3 separate regions of the Homo sapiens genome follow, and all the other regions are linked to region 1. The links are contacts of gene promoters, found by promoter capture Hi-C in blood cells and fetal thymus (Javierre and others, 2016). All regions are on one chromosome and are shown on one strand. The core of a region is centred on a gene start or on the middle of the fragment in contact, and the rest is flanking DNA. Distances in the headings are between cores, read along the strand shown.

Evidence for each region. Contacts are between HindIII fragments. The CHiCAGO score rates a contact against its expected background, and 5 or more counts as called.
Region 2: a contact is called between a fragment that was not itself captured here and the fragment with the promoter of UNG in region 1, in 16 of 17 cell types (total CD8 T cells, erythroblasts, naive CD8 T cells and 13 more). The highest score is 13.4, in total CD8 T cells.
Region 3: a fragment that was not itself captured here is called in contact with the fragment with the promoter of UNG in region 1 in 11 of 17 cell types (naive CD8 T cells, total CD8 T cells, megakaryocytes and 8 more); the score reaches 8.2 in naive CD8 T cells.

The regions. Positions count from the first base shown.
Region 1 is chr12:109,096,243-109,099,887 of GRCh38, reverse strand. It overlaps UNG (uracil DNA glycosylase), which reads right to left and starts at 2,291. Exons shown (of 7, transcript NM_080911.3): 1 at 2,077-2,291; 2 at 1,250-1,456; 3 at 604-699. The coding sequence starts at 2,208. RefSeq lists a silencer at 1,723-2,112. The HindIII fragment of the contact is 3,702 bases long and covers 770-3,645 here.
Region 2 is chr12:108,551,360-108,554,759 of GRCh38, reverse strand. All of the region lies in intron 1 of SART3 (spliceosome associated factor 3, U4/U6 recycling protein), which reads left to right. Among named protein-coding and RNA genes, the nearest start is that of SART3, 8.1 kb to the left of the region's middle. The HindIII fragment of the contact is 625 bases long and covers 1,302-1,926 here.
Region 3 is chr12:108,535,367-108,538,930 of GRCh38, reverse strand. It overlaps SART3 (spliceosome associated factor 3, U4/U6 recycling protein), which reads left to right. Exons shown (of 19, transcript NM_014706.4): 8 at 728-866; 9 at 1,336-1,443; 10 at 2,146-2,223; 11 at 2,359-2,417; 12 at 3,463-3,564. Among named protein-coding and RNA genes, the nearest start is that of FICD, 22 kb to the right of the region's middle. The HindIII fragment of the contact is 1,824 bases long and covers 1,353-3,176 here.

The sequences.
Region 1 (3,645 bases), core at 1,042-3,541:
TTTCATTGGTCTTGAACTCCTGACCTCAAATGATCCTCCCACTTTGGCCTCCGAAAGTGCTGGGATTACAGGCATGAGCCACCGTGCCCAGCCCCACGAACTTCTGAACACAAGATGGATGAGAGCCGCCAACCAGCAACTGTTATATAAGACAAACTAAAGCAAAGGGATCTGATAACAGAACCACAAAACTGTTCAGGCCAGAAGTCAAGAGCTTGAAAGTGCTAACTATAAGGCAGTGTGGTCAGGTCAAGGTGGGGTTGACTATAACAAGCTGCAAAAGATTTAACTGCTTTGTGTGTCAGTTTGAACTTCACCACCACCATAACATCTGACACCGCGGGAGGTTAGTTTCAGGATTTAAAAAAAATACAAGAAATAAGAGCACAGGATGTACATAGTTTTCCTTTTTGCCACATAAATACCACGTGGTAAACATTAAAAAGAGTAAATACAGGCTGAAATACAGTCAGCCAAACCTCGGGATTTCAGTGTTTTATTTACTACTGAATGATGGACTGTGGCTTAACTCCAGTGTCCCTAATTTAAAAATACTATTTGACTCCTTCTCCCCAATAAAAATTATCAACAAGTTGTACTTACATCTTTTATGTCACACATCTGGGTCCAGGTGAAGACTTGGTGTGGGGGTGGATAAACAGTGTAATGCTTTCTTTCTTCTGCAACAAATCCCATTAGCTGATTTAAAGATAAACTAGACTTAAAATCAGATTCTCATTGGAAACCATAAGAATTCAATAAGAAAGCTTCTAGTGCAAGTTATTTGGAACATCATTAGTTCTTTGTCATGTTATGTCCAAATTCTTTTAAAAAACAACAAACAAAAACAGTGCCTGCCCCCCCACCTAAGTGGTTCAATCAGGTCAATTCCTTGCCTCTTTCTCTGGGCTGGGTCCTGACAGTGCCACTCCTCTCGGCTTTTTAAAGCTCAAGCCAGGTTTCATTCAGGATGGTTGGTGATTTTACTACGCCAGCCTTTCCTGGACAATAGACTATGTGACTTAAATGAATCCATGATATCATCTCGCGGGTCGTTAACAACTTTAACCAATATAAAGCTGCAGAGTGAAACATCATGGCTTTCTTTTACCCCCTTTGTGAGTAAAGGAGGTTGAAGGGGGTACAACCTAAGCCTACGGAAACATGAACTTGGCCGGCTACACTAACAAGACAAAAGGGCCGGCAGCCTCCACATTTACCCTTATGGAAGGTGCATTTCCATATTTACCTTGATAAAATACGGTTTCCCGAACTCCCCGCTGAGGTGCTTCTTCCAGCTCTCTCCAAAGCCCACGGGCACGTTGCGGGCCGCGAGTCTGAGCAGGGCCGCGGCCTTGTTCCTCTGGATCCGGTCCAACTGCTCGGCACTCAGCGGCGAGGAGGGCGGCGTCCCAGGCTCCTCCTGCCCAGCCGGGGCCTTCTTGGCTGGGATGGCCTGCAAGTGGTCCCCGCAGAGGCGGCTCAAGAGCTGCAGCGGCCCCTTCCCAGGCGTCCGCAGCTTCCGGCCCAACCCCCACGGCCCAAGGCAGAAGACGCCCATTTGTGGAACAGGTCCCAGCAAAAGCGGACAGTAAGAGCCCAGGGCTGGGCCCGGTCCGGGAATTGGGAATTAGGTTCTAAACTGGAGCGGGGAGACGGGCTGGGAGGCGCCCTATGGCTTCCCGAGGAGCGTCGCGGTGACTGGGAACCCTGCACAGAGGTGCCCCGCCCCCGCCAGACCCGCCCCACCGCGTCCCCACGTGGTCTTTTCGCGGCAAAAAACCTCCCTCTGGGTCCCGCCCCCTCTCCCCTCTGATTGGACAGCGCACCGAGCCAGGAGGGCCTGCGGCGCGCGGATTGGCGCCATGGGCCCCGAGACGCGTTCCCATTGGCTGGCCCTTTAGCATGGCGGCCCATGGGGGACAGCGGCGGCTATTTTGAACACGTGGAGGCTATTTGGAAAGCGGAGCCCGGGTTTACCGAGTCAGAGGCGCGATCCTGCACGCCCTCCGTCAGGCGGGGCCCACCGCCTTCCTCCCCCTTCACCCCCTAGCCCCGGCCCAAGCCGCGCCTCACCGCCGCATCTCCGCTTTCCTCAGGCACCCCAGCCACGCCGGTCCCCTGGACGGCCGGCTCGGGGCTGGGGGCGTGTCGCTTCCTGGCGGGGCTGGGGGAGAAAAAGGAGTAGAGCGTCTTCTGGCCGATCATCCTGGAGCTGAGGAGGCAGCGAACGCGCGCCACCCGGGAACCGGCGAGGCTAGCCCTGGCTGTGGCTGTGGCGGTCAGCAATTGGCGCCAAGCGGCCCGCGCATGCTCCGAGCGGGGGGCTTTGCTGGGGGCGGGGGGCGGTGGAAGGCCCAGTGCGCATGTGCGGGAGGGGCTGGAGTGCAACGCCCCTGGGAGGAGGTGGGGCGTGCAACGGTGCCCGGGGGCCTATTCTTTCATTCGCTTTGTGCCTTCAGCCCACCTCTGCTCTTTGGACAGGCTCTTAAGGCTCAGCTGCAAGAAGAGAAGACTGGTCAGGCGCGGTGGCCCACGCCTGTAATCCTAGCGCTTTGGGAGGCCCAGGCTGGAGGATCGCTTGAGGCCAGAGGGTCTGAGCTGTAGTGAGCTTTGATCGCGCCAATGCACTCCAGGCCTGGGCGACAGAGCGAGACCCTGTCTCTCGGTGGGGTCGGGGGGAGGGGGCTGGGAAGAAAAGTTCCTGCCCCTTAGGGGTGTTGTGGGAGTGCAATGAACAATATAATAATATTGTCCGGGCTTGATGGCTCACGTCTGTAATCCCCGCACTGTAATCCGAGGCATCTCAAAAACAAACAAACAAACAAATACTATTATATTTTGTGTGTGTATTTTGTTTTTGAGACAGAGTCTTGCTCTGTCGCCCAGGCTGGAATGCAGTGGTGTGATCTCAGCCCACTGCAACCTCCGCCTCCCGGATTCAAGCGATTCTCGTGCCTCAGCTAGGATTATAGGCGCGCGCCACCACGCCTGGCTAATTTTTCTATTTTTAGTAGAAATGGGGTTTCACCATGTTTGCCCAAGTGTGTTTTGTATTTTTTTAGTAGAGATGGGGGATCTCACCATGTTGGCCAGTCTGGTCTCGAACTCCTGACCTCAGGCGATCTGCCCACCTTGGCCTCCCAAAGTGCTGGGATTACAGGCATGAGCCACCACACCCAGCCAATATTATTTGTTGAACTGTTATATACATTTTCTCACGCAATTTTCATGGCCTATTTTATGACGATAAACTAAGGCTTAGTGCAGTCAAACATTTTGCCTAATGTATCAGGCTTGTGGGAGACTTTCGGGTCATAGAGGTTAAACACCAACGATTTGTCTTCCAAATGACACCACTGTACCGAACCTCCTCCCACCACTACTAATACACTTAGGATTCTCTTTCCCTCCCTCACATCCAAACCATCCATATCTGCTTTTGGTTCTTTCTCCAAAGCAAACCTCAAATTCAACTGCTGCTCTTGCATCTCCTAGCTACAGAAGACCAGCTGGGAAGCTGGTGTTCTCTTTTCTAGAGAGAGATTTTTACATCATGACAATACCTGGGGCCTGGCCCAGCTCGGTGGCTCACGCCTGTAATCCCAACACTTTGGGAGGCCAAGGAGGGGCGTATCGCTTGAG
Region 2 (3,400 bases), core at 365-2,864, 540 kb after region 1:
AAATAGAAGGCAATACTGGGAAGTTTTTTGTGTTTTTTAAAAGGAATTTTAATGTATTATTAAATTTACTAAATATAAATATATAAATATATAATAAACAATATAATAAATATATAAATATGTTATTAAAATATATTTATTGCAGATTTTAAAAATCAGGTTAAGGAAGTGCCTTTCTATTCCTAGTTTGCTAATTCTTAATTTTGACTCATGAATGGATGTTTTAATCAAATGCTATTTCTTCATTGAGGTAATCATGTTTTTTTCCCTCAAATCTGATGGTGGAAAAATTATACTGGATGATTTTGTAGTGTAAAAACACCCTTGCATTCCTGGGATAGACCCAAATTGATCATTATGTATTGTTCTCTTTATACATTTCTGATTTTTTAATATTTTATTTAGGATTTTTGTATTAATGCTCTTGAGTGAGATTGACATGTAATTTATTGAATTCTGTGTGCCAGGTAGGTAAAGAATCTAACCAAGTCAAGGATAAGACATACAAGGTACTTATCCCATGAAGCCTTTAGGTCATGATGGAAATAAACACGATGATGAGATGGAAAACAGCTTGCAGCATATAGGGGGCTACTTAAGAAAGAGTGGCATAGGAGGGGGGCCGGGGGCGCCCTCTGAGGAAGTGAAGTTTATACCTGAAGTATGAAAAGGGGTGGCTAGGCAGAGAGAAGGTGAGAGATCCTTCTGGGCTGAAGGAGCAGCAGGTGCCTAGCCCTGAGGTTGGAGAGACGTTGGAATGTTTGAGTTACACGAAGCTGGCTGCCATGTTGAGAGGCCGGTGGTTTGAGATGTAGCTGGAGAGATGAGCCCAGCATGCTGGGATTGCACATGAGGCAGGGATTTGCAAATTGTTCCTAGGATACTGGGAAGCCATGGAAGGGTTTTACTATTATAATTAGTAGAGAAAGATAATGAGTTCTTGTTTAAAATCTAAACACTTGAACAAAACCCCGTAATCCTTCATATTTGTATTCTCTGAATGGTTGGTCCTTGTCCCCACTCCATTTAAAGGTTCACTGGCTACTTCATTGTTAAGATTTTTATCCTAAAGTTCAAGTAATCATATTCATTGGCTGTCTTTCTGTATTTTAATTAAATATCTAGTACCTGGATTATTAGGGTATGTTGTCAGATGGTAGAGTGTAATTTGAATGAAGTGTAGGTAATCTTTTATCTCTGGAGAGGGAAATATTCCTAAAATGTGGCAGATGTTGGAAGAGTAGATACTAATGAAGTCTTGGTGTACAGACTTAAATTATCCCTATATCCCAACAAAAGCTTTTTAAACAATTCGCCTTTTTATTTTGAGATAATTGTAGATTTCCATGCACTTGTAAGAAATAATAGAGATTTTTCGTGTACTTTTTACCCAGTTTCCCTCAATGATAACACTTTGAGGAACTATAATATGTAATAACCTGGGTATTGACATTGATATAGTCAAGATACAGATCAGTTCTGTCACCTTAAGGATCCTTGATGTTGCCTTGAAATTTTTCTCTTGTCCTAACATTTTGTGATGTTATATTTACATTTCACATTTAAGTGTGATCCATTTTGAGTTATTTCTGTAAGGCGTGAAGTTTAGGTCAAGGTGTATTTATTTGTTTTGCCTGTGGATATCCATTTGCTCCAGCATCATTTTTTGAAAATGCCTTTTTTTTTCCTCTGTTGCATTGCGTTTGTCAAAAATTATTTGGGCATATTTGTGTGGGTCTGTTACTGGGTTCTATTCTCTTCATCTATGTATCTTTCTGCCATTCTCACACTGCCTTGATGATTGTAGCTGTATTGTAGGTTTTAGTATCAATCAGGTAGAGTGATTACTCCCACTTTATTCTTTTTCAAGATCATTTTTAGCTATTCTAGGGCCTCTGCCATCCCATATACATTTTAGAATAAGCTTGTCTAGGTCTACAAAAAACCTTGTTGGGATTTTAATTGGAGTTTCAGTAAGCCTGTAAGTCAGTTTAGGGAGAATTTACTTCTTGACTATGTTGAGTTTTTCAATCCATGAACATGAAGTGTCTCTTTTTTTAGGTCTTTGATTTCTTTCCTCAGCATTTTGTAATTTTCAGCATACAGATTTTGTAAACTTTTTAAATATACACCTAATTATTTAGGTTTTTTGGAGTGATTGTAAATGGTGCTATGTCTTTAAATTTGGTTTCCACATGTTCTTTTGTTTTTTTTTTTGTTTTTGTATGTTTATCTTATATTCTGTGACCTTGCTCAGTTCACTATTTTTGGAGTTTTTTTTTTTTTTAATTGGTTCCTTAAGATTGTCTACTTAGCCATATCATCTACAAATCAGGACAGTTTTATTTTTCCGAGCTGTATAGCTTTTATTTCTTTTCCTTGTCTTATTGAACAGGCTAGAACTTATAGGACTTTGTTGGAAAAGAGTGGTGAGAGCAGACATCCTTGCCTTGTTCTTGATTTTAGGAGGAAAGTGTTCAATCTTTTACCATTAGGAATGATGTTAAGGTAACCCTATATCCCAACTTATGGGATAGATTTTTTATAGATGCTCTTTATCAGGTTGAGGTTGTTTCCCTCTATTCCTAACATGCTGAGTGTTTTAACCATGAATCGTTGTTGGATTTTGTCACATGCATTTTCTGCATCTATTGATACCATGAGTTTTCTTTAGCCTTTTGATACACTGGATTACAGTAATTGATTTTTAAATGTTGAATTAGCCTTGCAAACCTGGAATAAATACCACTTGGTCATGGTGTATAATTCTTCTTATACACTGAATTTAGTTCTTTAAATTTTCCTCCGTACTGTTTTAGTAGCATCCTACTTATTTTGATTTGTTGCAATTTCATTTTCATTCACTTTTTTTAATTTGTAAATTTTCTTGGAGACTTCCTCTTTGACCTGCAGATTATTTAGAAGTGTATTACTTAATTTTCACGTGTTCAGAGATTTTCTTACTGTTAGTGGTTTCTAATTTGATTCCATTGTGGTCACAAAACATACTCTGCATGGTTTTCATTTCTCTTAAATTGTTGAGGTTTGTTTTATGGCCAAGGATATGGCTTCAGTGAATGTTCCGTAAGTACTTGAGAAAAATACATATTCTGTATTGTTGGGTGGGCTGTTCTCTATATAAATTAGGTCATGTTCGTTGACGGCGTTATTGAGTTCTTCTATAACCCTGTTCTGCCTAGTTTAAAAAAAAATTAAACAATTTCCTTTCTTTTTAAAAACTTAAAAATTTTTTAATTTGCTTTTGTCTAATTTTCTTTTTCTTTTATTCATCTTCTTTTTGACCAGGTTCAACATATTCAAGTGTCTAGTAGTTTTATCAGTTGCTGAAAAGGGAGATGTTGAAGTTGCCAAATGTAATTGCTGCTGTGTCTCTTTGAGC
Region 3 (3,564 bases), core at 1,015-3,514, 560 kb after region 1:
AGATCACTGTTCTAATTTCATTTTATTTTTGCCAATTTAGAATCTACTTAAAATCAGTAAGAGTGCCAGGAGTTTGTTGCATACGGCCCTACTCTTGCTTTTCCTCCATCTGCTTTTTCTCCTCTTTGCCAACTCGTTTAGAAAGTTTTAGTGTTTCAAGTTATTTAAAAATGGTCACTAACTGTAAGTAAAATGAGCATATTGTCTGTGTTGAGGACTTATAACAACTTGATATTTTTCTTTTAACTTTTTATTATGGCAAAAATGTAAACATATAAAAGTAGACAGATCAGTAAAATGAAACTTCTGTACCCCTCACCCAGCTTCAACAATTAGTAACATTTATAGCTTTAGTTTACTTTGATCTGTAGTCTCACCTACTTGTCCCTTCTGTGTTACTTTGAAGCAAATCCAGAAATGATATTTCGTTGGTAAATATTTCAGTATGTGTATATAAAATATTTCAGTGTGTCTGTATAAAAGGATCCAAATGAGGTCTATCCAGTAGGGTTGGCTGACGTCTTTTAAGGCTGTTTTAACCTGTAAGTTGCTCCTCTCCTTCTCCTCCACTCCCCTTAGTGATTTTTTTGTTGTTGTTGAGGAAACCAGGTCACAAGAGATGTTTATAAGGACATTTCTTTCATCACTTGGTCGTGCTGGCAATGTCTTGTTGATGGTGAATGCTTAATAAAGTGTAATTTCCTAACTCTGGAATTCTTTATCATAGGATCGACAACTGAAAGTAAAGGATTTGGTTTTATCTGTACATAACCGCGCTATTAGAAACTGCCCCTGGACAGTTGCCTTATGGAGTCGGTACCTCTTGGCCATGGAGAGACATGGAGTTGATCATCAAGTAATTTCTGGTGCGGATGTTTTTGTGGGAGAACTTCTAAGCTATTTGTCCCAAGTGAAAAACAGAGAGCGGTGACAAAGTCATTACATCAGTGTTCCCTGGGGTTTTCTTTGGGTTATGGAGTGTAGTGACAAAAAGGGCTCTGAGTGAGAGATGAACTGGTTATATTTGTGGCTTCTTAGAGCTTTTTAACATGCTAATATTCATTGTATTTTCTAAGAAGTTGTAGTGTTTTCTCCAAACTTCCTTGATCTGGAACTTTTCTTGCAGGGCGTCTTGTGGAAGAAGTTTTTTCTAGAACACAGTCTGTAGAGTGCTGTAGCAACTTCTGTCTTCAACATTCCTGTCTAGCTCATTTCATTCTGTTGCATCTATTAGTCTTTAAAGTCATGTAGTGTTTTATAGTCAGTAGAATGTAGTGACTTTCTATTAGTTTCCATTTGAATTGGTAACAAATCCTGACTTTTCTCCAACTCCAGTAACCTTCGAGAAAGCTTTGAATGCCGGCTTCATCCAGGCCACTGATTATGTGGAGATTTGGCAGGCATACCTTGATTACCTGAGGAGAAGGGTTGATTTCAAACAAGGTATTTAAGCACATGTTTTTCACTTTAGAGCTGAACATGTTCTTAATACAACTTTTGGCGAGATGTCCCAGTTCCCCAGATACATTGTGATTGGGCAAATGATGTAGACTAGGTATTGGTGACTTTTTCCCCCAGAAATCTTAGCAATTTCTGTCTTTAACAAGTCATGATGTGGATTGTAAAGCAAGAGAGTAATCGTTTATACTGGCTCCTGCCAGCCTTTTTAGTCTTAGCTCTCATTTCTCCTTTCAGGTCTTTTTATTTATCCTAAATACTTCTTGAAATAAGTCTGCTGTGTTTTAGAAAAATCTTTGTACCTCTGTGGGATCCTTTGCCCCTTCATGTCCCCCCGAAAACAACCAGAAAACCCCTAACTTGTACTTGCACACTCATGTCAGCTGTCACCTCATACAGGTAGCCTTTAGCCATTCTCTTGTTTGCCTGTGTCACCCCAGCTGGGGGAGACTCCCCCCCACAGCACCCTGTGTTTGCCTTTTTCACCACGCTGTCCATGCTCTATTCTGTTCAAATTTCTTTCTCCCCAACTATGTGATGAGGGCAGGAATTGGCAATTTTATTTCTGTGTCCCTTGCATGATGCCAGGTACATAGTGGGTCTCCAGGCAGTTTCAGCATAGGATAAAAAATAAAACAAAGCCAGGCTATGTGGTTTCCTAAAGCCTTTTTTTGCACTTTCCGTTAGACTCCAGTAAAGAGCTGGAGGAGTTGAGGGCCGCCTTTACTCGTGCCTTGGAGTATCTGAAGCAGGAGGTGGAAGAGCGTAAGTATGCCCCAGCCTGTGGTTTTGCCCAGTTGTATTTCCTTGTCTGTACTATTTCCTGGTTGATGTACCTTTTCAGCCAGCGACTATCTGTCTCCAAGTTCCTTTCTAATTTTACTAATTCTGTTTTTGAAGGTTTCAATGAGAGTGGTGATCCAAGCTGCGTGATTATGCAGAACTGGGCTAGGATTGAGGTAAATGTTTTTGACACATCTAGCACTTTCATCCATCATTGTTTAATAGCATCCTATTAAACTTTAATTAAAATTGAGTCAGAATCCCAGATAATGGCCTAAGCTCTATAAGGATTTATGTTATTACCTAGGTAATGGTCTAGGCTCCACAAGGATTCATGTTATTTACCTAGCTTGACATATATTTGTAAATATGTTGGTGAAAATATTAGCTCCCAGCTAGAAGTTGTGCAGTAAATGTTTAGATGCTAGGTATTCACTCGTTTACTTCTGTCTCTGCCTCTTTGCTTCATTTGTGAGAGCACAGTGAGCGTGTACTGTTTGTCAGCACTGTACTAGGTGCTGTGGGAATAAGACAGATAAAATTCCTTTGCTAGTAAGGCTTCTATCTAATGTAGAAGACAGATGATTTGACAAGTAATTAGAGGATATGATGACTTGAATGTCATTACTGGGTCAGGGACACCAAGGTCAGTAAGACACGGAACCTCCCTTGATCAGCAGGTAGGATTGTAACAATTCTAATCATGTTTTCTCCTCGGAGGGAGCGTCAGATAGAAGAAACTAACATTTGTCAGGTAGTTTTTATATGGGATGCTTATCTTTTAACCATTTTAAAGATGAGAAAACTGAGAATTACAGGTTAAGTAATTTGCCCAAGTCACAGTTTGTAAGTATTAGTAGCAGAGTGTGCATTTAATACTAGATCAGTCTTTTTTTTTTTTTTAACATTGTCTCTCAAACACTTGTAGTTAAGCTTGATAAAAATAAAAAACGTGACTATCTAGTACTGTCGAGTAAGTACCGTGCGCTCCCTCTCTCGGTTCTCAGGAAACATAGGTAGATTAGCTTGTGGCTGCAGAAAGGCTCAAGTGTTTGGGCTGGGTCGTTTACCACTGGAGGGAGGCCTGGGGAATGCCCAGGGACATCTGTAACACTAATAGTTGTGGGGTGCTTTTTATGTGTGTCTGTTGGAAGTGTGTTGTATGATGGGTGTCGACGTCATAAGGTTCAGGTCTCCTAACAGCCTGCTGATGCACTTTAGGCTCGACTGTGCAATAACATGCAGAAAGCTCGGGAACTCTGGGATAGCATCATGACCAGAGGAAATGCCAAGTACGCCAACATGTGGCTAGAGTATTACAAC